Regions from separate parts of the Homo sapiens genome. Here region 2 is linked to region 1. The links are contacts of gene promoters, found by promoter capture Hi-C in blood cells and fetal thymus (Javierre and others, 2016). All regions are on one chromosome and are shown on one strand. The core of a region is centred on a gene start or on the middle of the fragment in contact, and the rest is flanking DNA. Distances in the headings are between cores, read along the strand shown. Region 1 holds the start of ARL8A (ARF like GTPase 8A). Region 2 overlaps UBE2T (ubiquitin conjugating enzyme E2 T).

Region 1 (7,231 bases), core at 3,572-6,071:
TGCAAAGTGCTGGGATTACAGGCTTAAGCCACTGTGCCCAGCCCCCACTTCTTCTTTATCTAGACAGAGATAATGGCTCCTTCCCCCAGAAAACTGTTGTAAGAAATGAGTTAACTTATATGAAAATGTTTTGGAAATGGAAACTACTATACAAATGTATGGAATCATTATTTTTACTTTTTAAGATTATTAGAAAGAAGGAAACTTGAGGCTCAGGAGTATTCCTGGCCCGACCCAAGGCTTCAGAGATCTGGTTTTGTCCCAGGAGCTGAGTGGATCAAGGAAGACCAAGTGTCAACATGGGGCATCACCCCTCAGCACGTGTAAGGGGCAGAGGACTTCTCTCACAGCAGATCTGAGGGGCAGCAATGAGGAGTAGAAAGTAGAAAAGATGAATATAGGTGGTGGGGCATGGTGGCTCATGTCTGCAATCCAAGCAGTTTGGGAGGCCAAGATGGGCCAATCACTTGAGGTCAGGAGTTCAAGACCACCCTGGCAACATGGTGAAACCCTGTTTCTACTAAAAATACAAAAATTAGCTGGGCAAGGTGGCAGGCACTTGTAGTCCTAGCTACTCAGGAGATTGAGGCAGGAGAATCACTTGAACCTGGGAGGCAGAGGTTGCAGTGAGCTGAGATCATACCACTGCTCTCCAGCCTGGCTATCAGAGTGAGACTCTGTCTCACAAAAAAAAAAAAAAAAAAAAAAAAGTGAAAAGATGAATATAGGCAAAGGAGTTGGCATGTTCTTTGAGAAAGTCAGGACTTTCCCAGTAGGACCACAGGGATGTTTGACTGGAGCCATTCAGCCAGCACCCTGACCCTCCTTCACTCATGGTCTGTGTGTTTCTCCTTGCAGAGGGGGGATGATCCAGACGGCAGAGCAGTACCAGTTCCTGCACCACACTTTGGCCCTGTATGCAGGCCAGCTGCCTGAGGAACCCAGCCCCTGACCCCTGCCACCCTCCGGTGGCCCAGGTGCCTACCTCCCTCAAGCCTGGGAAGGTGGGTCTGGGGAAAGTGGGCCGAGTGATCTGGGGGTACCCCTTGGGTTGGTGTGGGGAAGGAGTGCCTCCTTAGTGGTGCTTGCAGTCACAGGAAGCAGCAGCAGTAAGGACAAGGGGCCGGATTCCAGGTCTTCAACACTGGCCACTCCTCTGCTTCCTCTGTTGGCCCCAGATGGACAGTAAGGGGAACCTCCAATGTCTCTCTGAACTTAAAGACAGGAGCTGGCATTTATGACAGACAAAGAAAGAAGCCCAGGTGTCCTGGTGTTCTCTGAGACACTCTTTGTGAGCTTCAGTTTCCTGTTCTATAACATGAACATAAGTGCTTAGCTGCCATGAGGGAAAAGTAATGAGAGAAGTTTCTAGAAGCCACTCCAGCCACTCCTTCCTGGGGCTGACAAAAGGGTGATTCCAAGATCATCCTTCACCCGAGGTCCTGCCCAAGCACAGGCCAGATGCAAGAATGGGGAAAAGTCTGGTCCTGATCTCCAAGTCTCAACATCCTATCAGTGACTCTGCTCCCTGACCACACATCGGAAGGGCTGGATGACCCCAATCAAAAGAAAGAACAAGGACTCTGGTTACCCTTGCCTCCACCCATGTGTCATAAGAGTAGGCTACAGAGGTGACCAGGCCTGGCAGTTGAAATCTCTGGAAGAGGGAACATGTGGGGACTACTCAGAGGCAAAGAGGAGCTGCTCCTGCCTCCATGGTTGCTGGCCACTCCCACCAACTACTCTTAGGGAGGCTAAGCAGTCTCTGTTTTGCTTCCATGGCTCAAATAATACCCTGGGTATGCAGGACCCACTATACCTTGCATTTGCTGAGTACACCTAGAGAGCTTGGCTGTTTCCAAAAACAATCAGGGTCATAACCATCCATGCAGACATGGAGGCTCGGCTGAACCAGGACTCCTCACTGTCTACCTGAGAGAATGAGCACCCCTCATCCATCTCAGCATCAACACAATTTCCAGGGGACCTCAGGTCTACCTCAGGACTGAACGCCACACCTCAGGATTCCTCCTCCTTGAATCTGAGACTGGCTGCCCATTCTGAGATGGGGATGAAGGTAAGATGCCGCATCACCAGGCACGCCGCCCCTGACAGCTGCCTTGATACCAGCTCTCTGTGGAAACCCCCGAGGAGTTGGATCTGGAGAACAGCTGGGCCTCCTCACTCAGGACTTCTCTCCTGAAGAACACGCAGTGCTAAAACTGAGGATGATTTCCCTAATGCTTCTGCTTGGCCTTATGGAGGAGCTGCTCCTTCCTTACAGCCTTGGGGATGGACTTGCCCACACCTCCACCTCCCCTGAGCCCTGTGAGAGGCACGACTGTCTATGCCAATGAGGCTCGGTGGGGGGCTCTCAAGTGCCTGATCCTGCCCTGGGCTCAGAGCCAGCCCAGAGGGAAGCAACTGCACAGCCCCACAGGCCCTCCCTGGCACTGTCCCCCCAACCCCATCTCAGAGCTCAGAGGGTACAAGCTCCAGAACAGTAACCAAGTGGGAAAATAAAGACTTCTTGGATGACTGACTCATTCCTTCTTTCCATCTTCTTCTTGGCCCTCTGGGGCCTCTTTGTAGCAAGAGAGAAAGACTGCAGACCAGGGACAGGCAGGCTGCAAATCTTTGCCCTTGGGATATGCACTTTTCTAGCACTTCCAAGGACATAAAGTAAGGTGAAACCAAAGTCAATTTAGGAAGTGAGACAGGGTGGACCCTCATAGCCTACCCAGGCAGCTGTAACAATTCACACTACCGTAAACCATGTGGCTTCTAAACAACAGAAATGTATTGCTGGCCTGGCGTGGTGGCTCATGCCTGTAATCCCAGCACTTTGGGAGGCCGAGGCAGGCGGATCACGAGGTCAGGAGATCCAGCTAACACAGTGAAACGCTGTCTCTACTAAAAATACAAAAAATTAGCCGGACGTGGTAGCACACACCTGTAGTCAGCTATTCGGGAGGCTGAGGCAGAAGAATTGTTTGAACCCTGGAGGTGGAGGGTGCAGTGAGCTATCATGCCACTGCACTCCAGCCTGGATGACAGAGCAAGACTCCATCTCAAAAAAAAAAGAAAAAAGAAAAAAAGAAATGTGTTGCTCACAGTTCTGGAAGCTGGGAAGTCTAGGATCAAGACCCTTGCAGACTCAGTGTCTGGCTATTAGGCAGAGCCTTCTTTCTGTCCTTGCATGGTGAAAAGGTTGTGGGCTGGTATTCTTCCCCCTAATCCCACCGGCCCCCTTTATAAGGCTCTACCCTCATGACTTAATCACCTCCTAATACCATCACTTTAGGGATTAGGACTTCAACCTATGAATTTGGGGGGACACAAACATTCAGTCCATAGCCTTTATCTTAGGAGCTAGAGGAGGACTTATAAAGGGCAGAGGTTAGAAAGATGGTGCTTAATAAACCAGAATATTGGCCAGGCTCATGCCTGTAATCCCAGCACTTTGGGAGGCTGAGGCAGGCAGATGGCTTGAGCTCAGGGCTTCGAGACCAGCCTGGACAACATGGCAAAACCCCGTCTCTACCAAATATACAAAAATTAGGCTGGCATGGTGGCGCATGCCTGTAGTCCCAGCTACTCGGGAGGCTGAGGTAGAAGAATCACCTGAGCCCGAGGAGGTGGAGGCTGCAGTGAGTCGAGATCCCACCGCTGCACTCCAGCCTGGGCCACACAGTGAGACCCCATCAAAAAAAAAAAAAAAAACAATATTATGCTAGCCGAAACCTTGTGATTCTTCTACTTTGGTAACTGTTTGACTATTTGGGGTCATCTAACTCCAGTTGATTGGACAGATATGGTTGATATTGATAGTTTACCCACTTTTGACTAAAACAATAGACTACATATGACTACATTTGAAAACCAAACCCCAACGGGCAGCCAGCATAGGCTGGGGACTGCCCGAAGCCTGAGCCTACCCGGGACTGCCAGCTGAGGTTGTCAGCCTGCCTGAGCAGGTCCTATGGGTGGGTCTTGCAAGGAGAGGGGCAGGAGTAAGGCATCTTTGCAGGCACTCCAGACCCACTTCAAGAGGAGAACTATCACTTCTCCTCCTGAAGAATACTCTGCTTTTCACCAAAACAGGGCAACATTTTCCTTTGTCACAGACGTTCCTCACTGAAAACCCCCTGCCAGGACTGTATCTGTTTGGGTATCTTGGGGATGCTGGTAAAAATCCGGAGCAAGTTCAAGCGTCCGTTTCACTTGGGGCCAGAGGCTTCCTAACAAGTGGTCGGGGTAAATTGTGGTGAACAAAACAAGATGGAGTATTAAAAGACCCGAATACGGTTGTCCCTCTGCACTGGGTGCATTTTGAGAGGATGGGACTGTACCCAGGAATGCTCAGAGGCAAGGGTTCAGGGACAAAAAAGCCTCCATCTGCCTCCCTGTCGTAGAGATCTCATCTCCGTGTCCTGGGAAGTGGGTGACCCACTCTCCTTCAACCTGAAAAGGCTCCTGCTTAACCGGAACCTCACCCACCTCGAGCCCACCACCCTTTAAGAAAGGGGGTGCCAGTCAGGGCGCGGCAGTCGGGGACAGGGTCTAAAATAAATTAGACCCCATTTCCCAAGCGCCTCTCGACGCCAGCTGCCGGTCAACCCCCGCCGCTGAAGCCTGCGGATTCCCTGCTCACCCCACCTGCGGATTCCCTGCTCACCCCACCTGCGGGTGCGGCCCCTGGCCCCCCGGCTCCAGCGAGGGAGGAGCGCGCGCTCGGGTGCGAGCAGGACACGGCCCGGCCGCGAGGGAGGGCGGCGGCGGCGGCGGAGGAGGAGGGCGCGGAAGCCACACCCATCGGCGAGCCGATTCCGGGGCAGCGAGTCGTCGGCAGCCGCGCTCGAGCCTCCGCCCGCACCGAGCCGCGGGACCCGGGCCGTACCGGGGAGGGGCCGCTCCGGGCCGCAGCGCGAGGGCAGCGAGGGGCGGCGGGGACCTGGCACCGGGCGGGGCCGGCGGCAGCGACCATGATCGCTTTGTTCAACAAGCTGCTGGACTGGTTCAAGGCCCTATTCTGGAAGGAGGAGATGGAGCTCACGCTGGTCGGGCTTCAGTACTCGGGCAAGACCACCTTCGTCAACGTGATCGCGGTACGAGGGCGTCGGGCGCGGGGTCCCCGGGCGCGGGCCGCGGGTCGGGCCTGTCCCCGCCCGCGCCGCGCCCTGCTGAGCCGGGGTCGCCGCCTGGCATAGCCGGGCACGGCCGGGCGCCGGGCGGGGGAGGAGCCGGCCCCGAGCGCTTGGGGCCTAGTACGGCCCGTGCCGTGGGGGACCGGGGCGGCGCGCGACCCGCTCTCTCACCCGGGCCGGTACTGCACGGCTGGGGGCAGGGGAAGGGGGACGAACAGACAGGGCCGGTGCCACGGGGCAGGCGGCACCGAGGGGCTCTCGAAGCAGGAGGGACCCGCTGCCGGCTGAGACGGGCCCCCTCTGGCCCCCGCGCAAGGGGGCATGACGGGGCGAAAGTGCACGGGCCTTCCTGTCCCGCGGGTAGAGGGTCACGGGACGGGGCGGCCGAGAGGCTTGAGGAGGGGGTTTGGGCAAGCCCAGCCCCACCCAGAGGGCTTAACCCCTCCTTGCCGGAAGAGGAAGCCCCGGCCCTATTGAGGGGGAGGGGAGGTATCCCCCGGGGTAGAGGAGTCAGCTGAGGCCCTTGGCTCAAGCCCAGACTCCTCCCCAACTTCTCCCCGACCCGCAGTGTCTAGCCGGGGGTCCAGGGAGGATCGCATGGTAACGGGAGTTTGGAGACTCCGTCTGGCTCAGAAGTTTGCAGGAGCAGGTGCTCCCGACAAGAGAGGATGAGGTGTAGGGGCACGGCCCACTGGGGCCTTGGGAGAGTGGCTCTAAGGGCTTTGGGTCGTCAACACTGAAGTGGGTGATTGTAAGTCTTTCAGCGCCAGGGGAGTGGTGGGGAAGGAGTTAAAATCTCTCTCAAAAAAGGGGAAGATGAGCTCCATGGGTGTGAGCTGAGGCTGCCGTAATGGCTGCGGCCTGCCTGTCAGAGCCAGGCTAGACAGGGCTTGTGGGTCGAGGAAGCATGGGACAGGGGCTGGGGTTGTCCAGGGACCTGGCCCCAGTCCCAAAGCTGAGGTTTCCCACAACTGTGAGTTGGCCAGATAGTAACCAAAGATACTGATGAGATAGGTCAGCAGAGGAATGTATCCAGCCGGCCTAGGTACCTCTACCTGTCCGTGTTGTTGCCCCACCTTGCAGAAGATGGGCCTCCTCGACAGTTCTCAGCGTCCTAGAAGGCAGGGGACGTCACTTCATTGGACCTGAGGCATGAAGGCAGATGGAAAGCTCGAGGGGCGGGCATCCTGTGGTTACACAATTGAACACTGGCTTCCTTTCCCAAACATGCTCTGCAAATGACCTCTGCCCTTTCTCGACCCAGTGTCTCCTGTCTCCTGACCTGACAGGGCAGGATCTTCAGGCCAATGCTGCGGTTTTGGCACAGTAATTTTCGGAGCTAACACCCCTGGGCTCTGTCTGCCTAGGCTCTGCCCTTGGGGTCAGAGACCCTCTGGTTAAACTTGGCATTGACTTAGGCTCTTGGATTCCCAGAGCAGGCACATAACACCTGGACTCTGACCTGACTCTGCAGGCCTAGGTGGCTTGGGTTCTAGGCGTTTAGGTCTGAGAAATGCAGCTGGGCCTAGGTATCTCCTCGTTCCCCAGGGTGTTACTATAGCTGTGCTCTGGGACAGGGATCCACAGGTACCCGGGTGGGTTCGGTTTCTGGGTCTGCAGTTGAGCCTTTGACAGGAGGGCCCCCTCTAGACCAGCATCATATCCAGAGAGTTGGAGACTATAGCAGGCCAGAAACAGAACCCAAGAGTCCCAAATTCCCCTGCCAGGGTCAAGAGTTCCTGTGATATACAGGAAAAGCACCCCATCTCCAGCCCACAAGGTCCCCTTTTTAATCTTAAATTTGCCACTTCCGCTGGCACATTCTAAAAGAGCAGGCAAGCTAAATTCCCTTCTTTAGAGAGGCTTCCCAAGGAAAACCACCCCATGTGGGCTGCAGTTGGAATTCCAGTGTCCCGGTCACTCCAGTGTTTTCAGATCCTCTGGGGCTACCACACTGGCATTGCTGCCCACCCCGTGTATAATCACAGTTGAGTGTCTTCCAGAAAGAAACGAAGAGTTGGGACCCCTGGGCTCTGTTCCCATGCCTACCACTGAATTTCTGAATTACCTGTGCCTGTTCATTT
Region 2 (5,431 bases), core at 1,198-3,697, 190 kb before region 1:
AGCATGAGTTTGTGGAGAGTAGATACTGGATATAAGGCGGGATATAAGGGTTAGATTGTAAAGAACCTTTATACCCTGAAAAATAGGCAGTTATTCATGGCATTTGAGCCAAAGAATGGCATATGCCAATTTTGGTTAACATAGTGAGGCTGGAGTCTGGTTGCTTCCTTGGGAGAAATTGTCTTGCTTGTTCTAATCCTTTTACCATGGCTTTCCACTGTTCTCATTTTATATAAAGGTATACTTTATACTTGTGATACTTTTACTGTACAGTCAACCCTCTGTATCCATGAGGGATGGTTCCAGGACATCCTGCAGATCCCAAATCCACCAAAGGTCAAGTCCCAGATATAAAATGGTGTAGTATTTGCATATAACCTATGCATGTCCTCCCATATACTTTATATTTAAGAGATGGGGATATCCTTTGTTGCACAGGCTGGTTCTTTTTTTCTTTTTTTTTTTTTTAAGAAAGGGTCTCGCTCTGCCACCCAGGCTGGAGTGCAGTGGCGCGATCTTGGCTCACTGCAACCTCCGCCTTCCTGGTTGAAGCCATTCTCCTGCCTCAGCCTTCCAAGTAGCTGGGATTACAGGCGTGCACCACCACACTTTGCTAATTTTTGTATTTTTAATAGAGATGGGGTTTCCTCATGTTGGCCAGGCTGGTCTCAAACTCCTGACCTCAAATGACCCACCCACCTTGGCCTACCAAAGTGCTGGGATTACAGGTGTGAGCCACCATGCCTGGCCAGTTTTGTTTTGTTTTGTTTTTGAGACAGAGTCTTGCTCTGTCGCCCAGGCTGGAGTACAGTGGCGCGATCTCAGCCCACTGTAACCTCCACCTTCTGAGTTCAAGCCTTTCTCCTGCCTCAGCCTCCTGAGTAGCTGGGATTACAGGCCTCCACCCCCGCAGCTGGCTAATTTTTATATTTTTAGTAGAGAGGGGATTTCCCCATGTTGGCCAGGCTGGTCTGGAACTCCCGATCTCAAGTGATCCACCTGCCTCAGCCTCCCAAAGTGCTGGGATTACAGGCGTGAGCCACTGTGCCAGGCCTCACAAGCTGGTCTTGAACCTCTGCATGTCCTCCCATATACTTTATTTATTTTAGAGATGGGGTTCTCCTTTGTTGCACAGGCTGGTCTTGAACCCCTGGCCTCAAGTGATCCTTCTGCCTTGATCTCCCAAAGTGCTGCAATTACAGGTGTGAGCCACCGTGCCCAGCCCCACCCCCATATACTTTGAATTATTTCTTGATTACTTATAATACCTAATAAAATGCTAAGTAAATTGTTGTTACACTGTATTGTTTAGGGAATAATGACAAGAAAAAATGTATAGTACGTGTTTGGACGAAGATGTTTTTTTTTTTTTTTTTTTTTTTGAGACAGAGTCCTAATCTATCGCCCAGGCTGGGGTGCAGTGGCGTGATCTTGAAGTACAAAACACTTCCAGCAAAAAATCTTTATTTTTAAGAAAAAAGTATTTTTTCTCATTTTCTATTTTTGTCATAAATTTTTATTCTTTCCAGTGGAACCAAAACTTGAACTTCCTTTTGGTTGATACATGCCCAGCAAGACTGATCAAAGAAAAGATGGCACAGATAAACAGTGTTAGAAATGAAAATGGAAACATAACCATAGATAACTACAGATTAAAAAGATAAAACATTATACAAATAAATTGAAAATTGCATGTAATAGATAAATTTGTGGAAAAATTTAACTTGCCAAAATTGATGCAAGAATAAATAACTTGAATAAGATTCAAGTAAATTGGATTTGTAGGTTAAAATTTTCTCAAAATGAAAACACCAGGATCAGATGGAGTTATTCCAGACAACCTAGTAACAAATTATCTCTTGGACTAATCCACAATATGTTAAAAAAAAAAAAAAAAAAAAAAAGGAGGCAATACTCCCTAACTCATTTTAGGAGGCTAGCATAACCTTGATAGCTAATAAAGACAAAATTAGAAAGGACAGTTATAGGCCAGTCTTACTGATTAGCATAGTGTTAAAAGCTTTCCCTTTAAGGTTAGAAATCTGACAAGAATGCCAACTATCAGCTTTTCTTTCTTTCTTTTTTCTTTTTTTTTTTTGGCTGTTGTTTAGACAGGGTCTCACTCTGCCTCCCAGGCTGGAGTGCAGTGGCACAATCATGGCTCACTACAGCCTCAGTCTCCCCGGGCTCAGGTCATCCTCCCACCTTAGCCTCCTGAGTAGCTGGGATTACAGGCTCATGCCAGCATGCTTGGCCCAGCTATCAGCTTTTTCATTTAACATTGTACTAGAAGTTACTGTCAGAATAGAAGGCAGGAAAAGAATTAGAAGGGAAGAAATAAACTTGATTATATGTGGATGACATGATTGGCAGTGTGGAATTACCATTCCCAGACTGCTCCCCACCCCAAATAGATTCATCATTAGCATTACTAAGGCTTTGGTTAAAAATCAGTTAGATTGGCTGGGCGAGGTGGCTCATGCCTGTAATCCCAGCACTTTGAGAGGCTGAGATGGGTGGATTACCTGAGGTCCGTGGTTCGAGACCAGCCTCACTAACATGGAGAAACCCTGTCTTTACTAAAAAAATACAATATTACCTGGGCCTAATGGTGCATGCCTGTAACGCCAGCTACTCAGGAGGCTGAGACAGGAGAATCGCTTGAACCCAGGAGGTGGAGATTGCGGTGAGCCAAGAGCACACCATTGCACTCCAGCCTGGGCAACAAGAGCAAAACTCCATCTCAAAAAAATAAAAAAAAATCAATTAGATTTACATGTATCAGTAAGAAATGGGTAGAAAATAGTGTTTTTGAAAAGATAGCAAAAATATAAATACTTAGAAATCAGTCTAACAAAAATTAGATAAAGCTTTATAGAGAAAATTATAAAACCTTTGGAAAGCATCAAAAAAAAGACTGAAACAGCGTGTTCATGGATCTTAGGATTCAATATCATAAAGATATCAGTTATCTCCAAATTGATCTATAGCATCAATAAAATTACAATCCAAACCACAGAACCCTGTTATGATTTGGATTATAATTTCAGATATACATATTTATGTATATATTTATGGACTTATGAACTGATTCTCAAATTTATATGGAAGAGCAAAGAGTCAAGAATAATCAAGTCATTCCTGAAGAAAAAGACCAGGTGGATAAGCTATAGTAAAACATCACATTGTACACCTTAAATATATACAATTTGTATTTGCCAGTTATACCTCAGTAAAGCTGGGAAAAAATTTAAATAATAAAAAATGAATAAGCTATAGTAATTCAAACAGTGGAGTATTGTCTCAGAAATAATCCACTTGACCAGTGGAACAAATTCAAGAGTCCCAAAACAAATCCACACATATAGAAATTTAATTTATAGTAATATCAGCAGGGAAAGGATGGACTGATTCAGTAAATGATGTTAGAACAATTGACTATTCATATGGGGAAAAACTTTAAATTGGACCCCCACCTCACTCACTATACATAAAATTCAATTCCTAGTGGATTCAATATTTAAATTTGAATAGCAAAATTATAAAATATTTGAAGGCTATGTAGGAATATCTCTACATTTGGGGGTAAGGAAAAATTTAATACACAAAGTATAAATGTAAAGAAAGAGATTTTAAGATTGATTATGTTAAGAGTATGTGTTTATTGAAAGACACCATGTACAACATGGAAAGATAAGCACAAACTGGGGGATATTTGTAACACATTAAAGGATTGGTGTTGGCTGGGCGCGGTGGCTCACGCCTGTAATCCTAGCACTTTGGGAGGCTGAGGTGGGTGGATCACGAGGTCAGGAGTTCAAGACCAGCCTGGCCAAGATGGTGAAACCCCATCTCTACTAAAAATACAAAAAGTAGCCGGGCGTGGTGGCGGGCGTCTGTAATGCCAGCTGCTCGGGAGGCTGAGGCAGAGAATTGCTTGAACCCGGAAGGCTGAGGTTGCAGTGAGCCGAGATCGCACCACTGCACTCCAGCCTGGGCAACAGACCGAGACTCCGTCTAAAAAACAAAAGGGATTAGTGTCCTTTGCTTGGTTAGTAAAGAGAGAACTAGAGTTGAGAAGAGTGTTGGGTGAATATGTGTGTAGGTGTTGGTTTTAGGTGAGAGAGACTTTGAGCATATTTGAACATTGAGGGTAAGAAAGATGGAATAATTGATGGAATGGTATCCCTGAAGATTGGGAGAAGGTGGAATCCATAGCACATGGAGAGAAACTCGGACATTTAACATTTGTTTGTACCTGAGAATGTTGACTATCTCTACCATTCTTGCTCTCACAAAGCATATGTAGACTTCCTCACAACAGCAAATATTTGTCAAATCCCTTACTATGACAGGCATGCTAAGGCTACAATAGTAAGCAAAATCAGACCCAGGCCTGGCCTCATGAGTTTATAATTTATCAGTGGAAACACCCATTATTTAAAACCTTTAGTGTTTTTATTTTTTGTAGAACTTTTTGCATTTTTAGTTCTTTATTTTAAAAATATATTTGCTTGTATAGATAAACGTTCACAAGAAGGGAGTGGAAAAACTCAGATTCCCTTGTCAGAATAGAGATTAATAAGAGGAATCTTGGACTGGCGTGGTGGCACACACCTGTACTTCCAGCTACATAGGCGGCTGAGATGGGAGGATCACTTAAGCCCAGCAGGTGGAGATTGCAGTGAGCTGAGATTGTGCCACTGCACTCCAGCCTGGGTGACAGAGCAAGACCCTGCCTCTAAAAAAAAAAAAAAAAAAAAAAAAAAAAGCTGGGTGCATTGGCTCACGCCTGTAATCCCAGCACTTTGGGAGGCCAAGGCAGGCGGATCACCTGAGGTCAGGCATTTGAGACCAGCCTGGCCAACATGGCGAAACCCTGTCTCTACTAAAAATACTAAAATGAGCTGGGCATGGTGGTGCACGCCTGTAATCCCAGCTACTCTGGAGGCTGAGGCATGAGAATTGCTCAAACCCAGAAGGTGGAAATTGCAGTGAGCTGAGATGGTGTCACTGCCCTCCAGTCTGGGTGACAGAGTGAAACTGTGTCTCAAAACAAAAAAGAGGACTCTGTCCCCCACCCTCACTACATTGAAGCTGTTTGCTGAAAACTTCATAGTCATTATTGCTGATGATTTTATGGTCACCTCTTTTCTCCTCCAGTGCATCCCAGGCAGCTCTTAGTGTGGAGCAGTGAACTGTGTGTGGTTCCTTCTACTTGGGGATCATGCAGAGAGCTTCACGTCTGAAGAGAGAGCTGCACATGTTAGCCACAGAGCCACCCCCAGGCATCACATGTTGGCAAGATAAAGACCAAATGGATGACCTGCGAGCTCGTAGGTATCAAATCATGTATATGATGAAAGTCATGACCCTATTGAAGATTGTGCTGAAATAAAACATTTTGTGTATTCTTCTAAAGTAAGGAGCA

The links. Contacts are between HindIII fragments. The CHiCAGO score rates a contact against its expected background, and 5 or more counts as called.
Region 2: a contact is called between a fragment that was not itself captured here and the fragment with the promoter of ARL8A in region 1, in 4 of 17 cell types (naive CD8 T cells, fetal thymus, naive CD4 T cells and 1 more). The highest score is 7.3, in naive CD8 T cells.

Annotation. Positions count from the first base shown.
Region 1 is chr1:202,142,327-202,149,557 of GRCh38, reverse strand. It overlaps ARL8A (ARF like GTPase 8A), which reads left to right and starts at 4,821. Exons shown (of 7, transcript NM_138795.4): 1 at 4,821-5,108. The coding sequence starts at 4,986. PTPN7 (protein tyrosine phosphatase non-receptor type 7) reads left to right here. Exons shown (of 10, transcript NM_002832.4): 10 at 859-2,542. The coding sequence ends at 952. RefSeq lists silencers at 4,621-5,330, 5,831-5,880. The HindIII fragment of the contact is 25,746 bases long and covers 1-7,231 here.
Region 2 is chr1:202,335,551-202,340,981 of GRCh38, reverse strand. UBE2T (ubiquitin conjugating enzyme E2 T) reads left to right here. Exons shown (of 7, transcript NM_014176.4): 2 at 5,164-5,336. The coding sequence starts at 5,228. Among named protein-coding and RNA genes, the nearest start is that of UBE2T, 3.7 kb to the left of the region's middle. RefSeq lists enhancers at 3,393-3,916, 3,917-4,441. The HindIII fragment of the contact is 850 bases long and covers 2,023-2,872 here.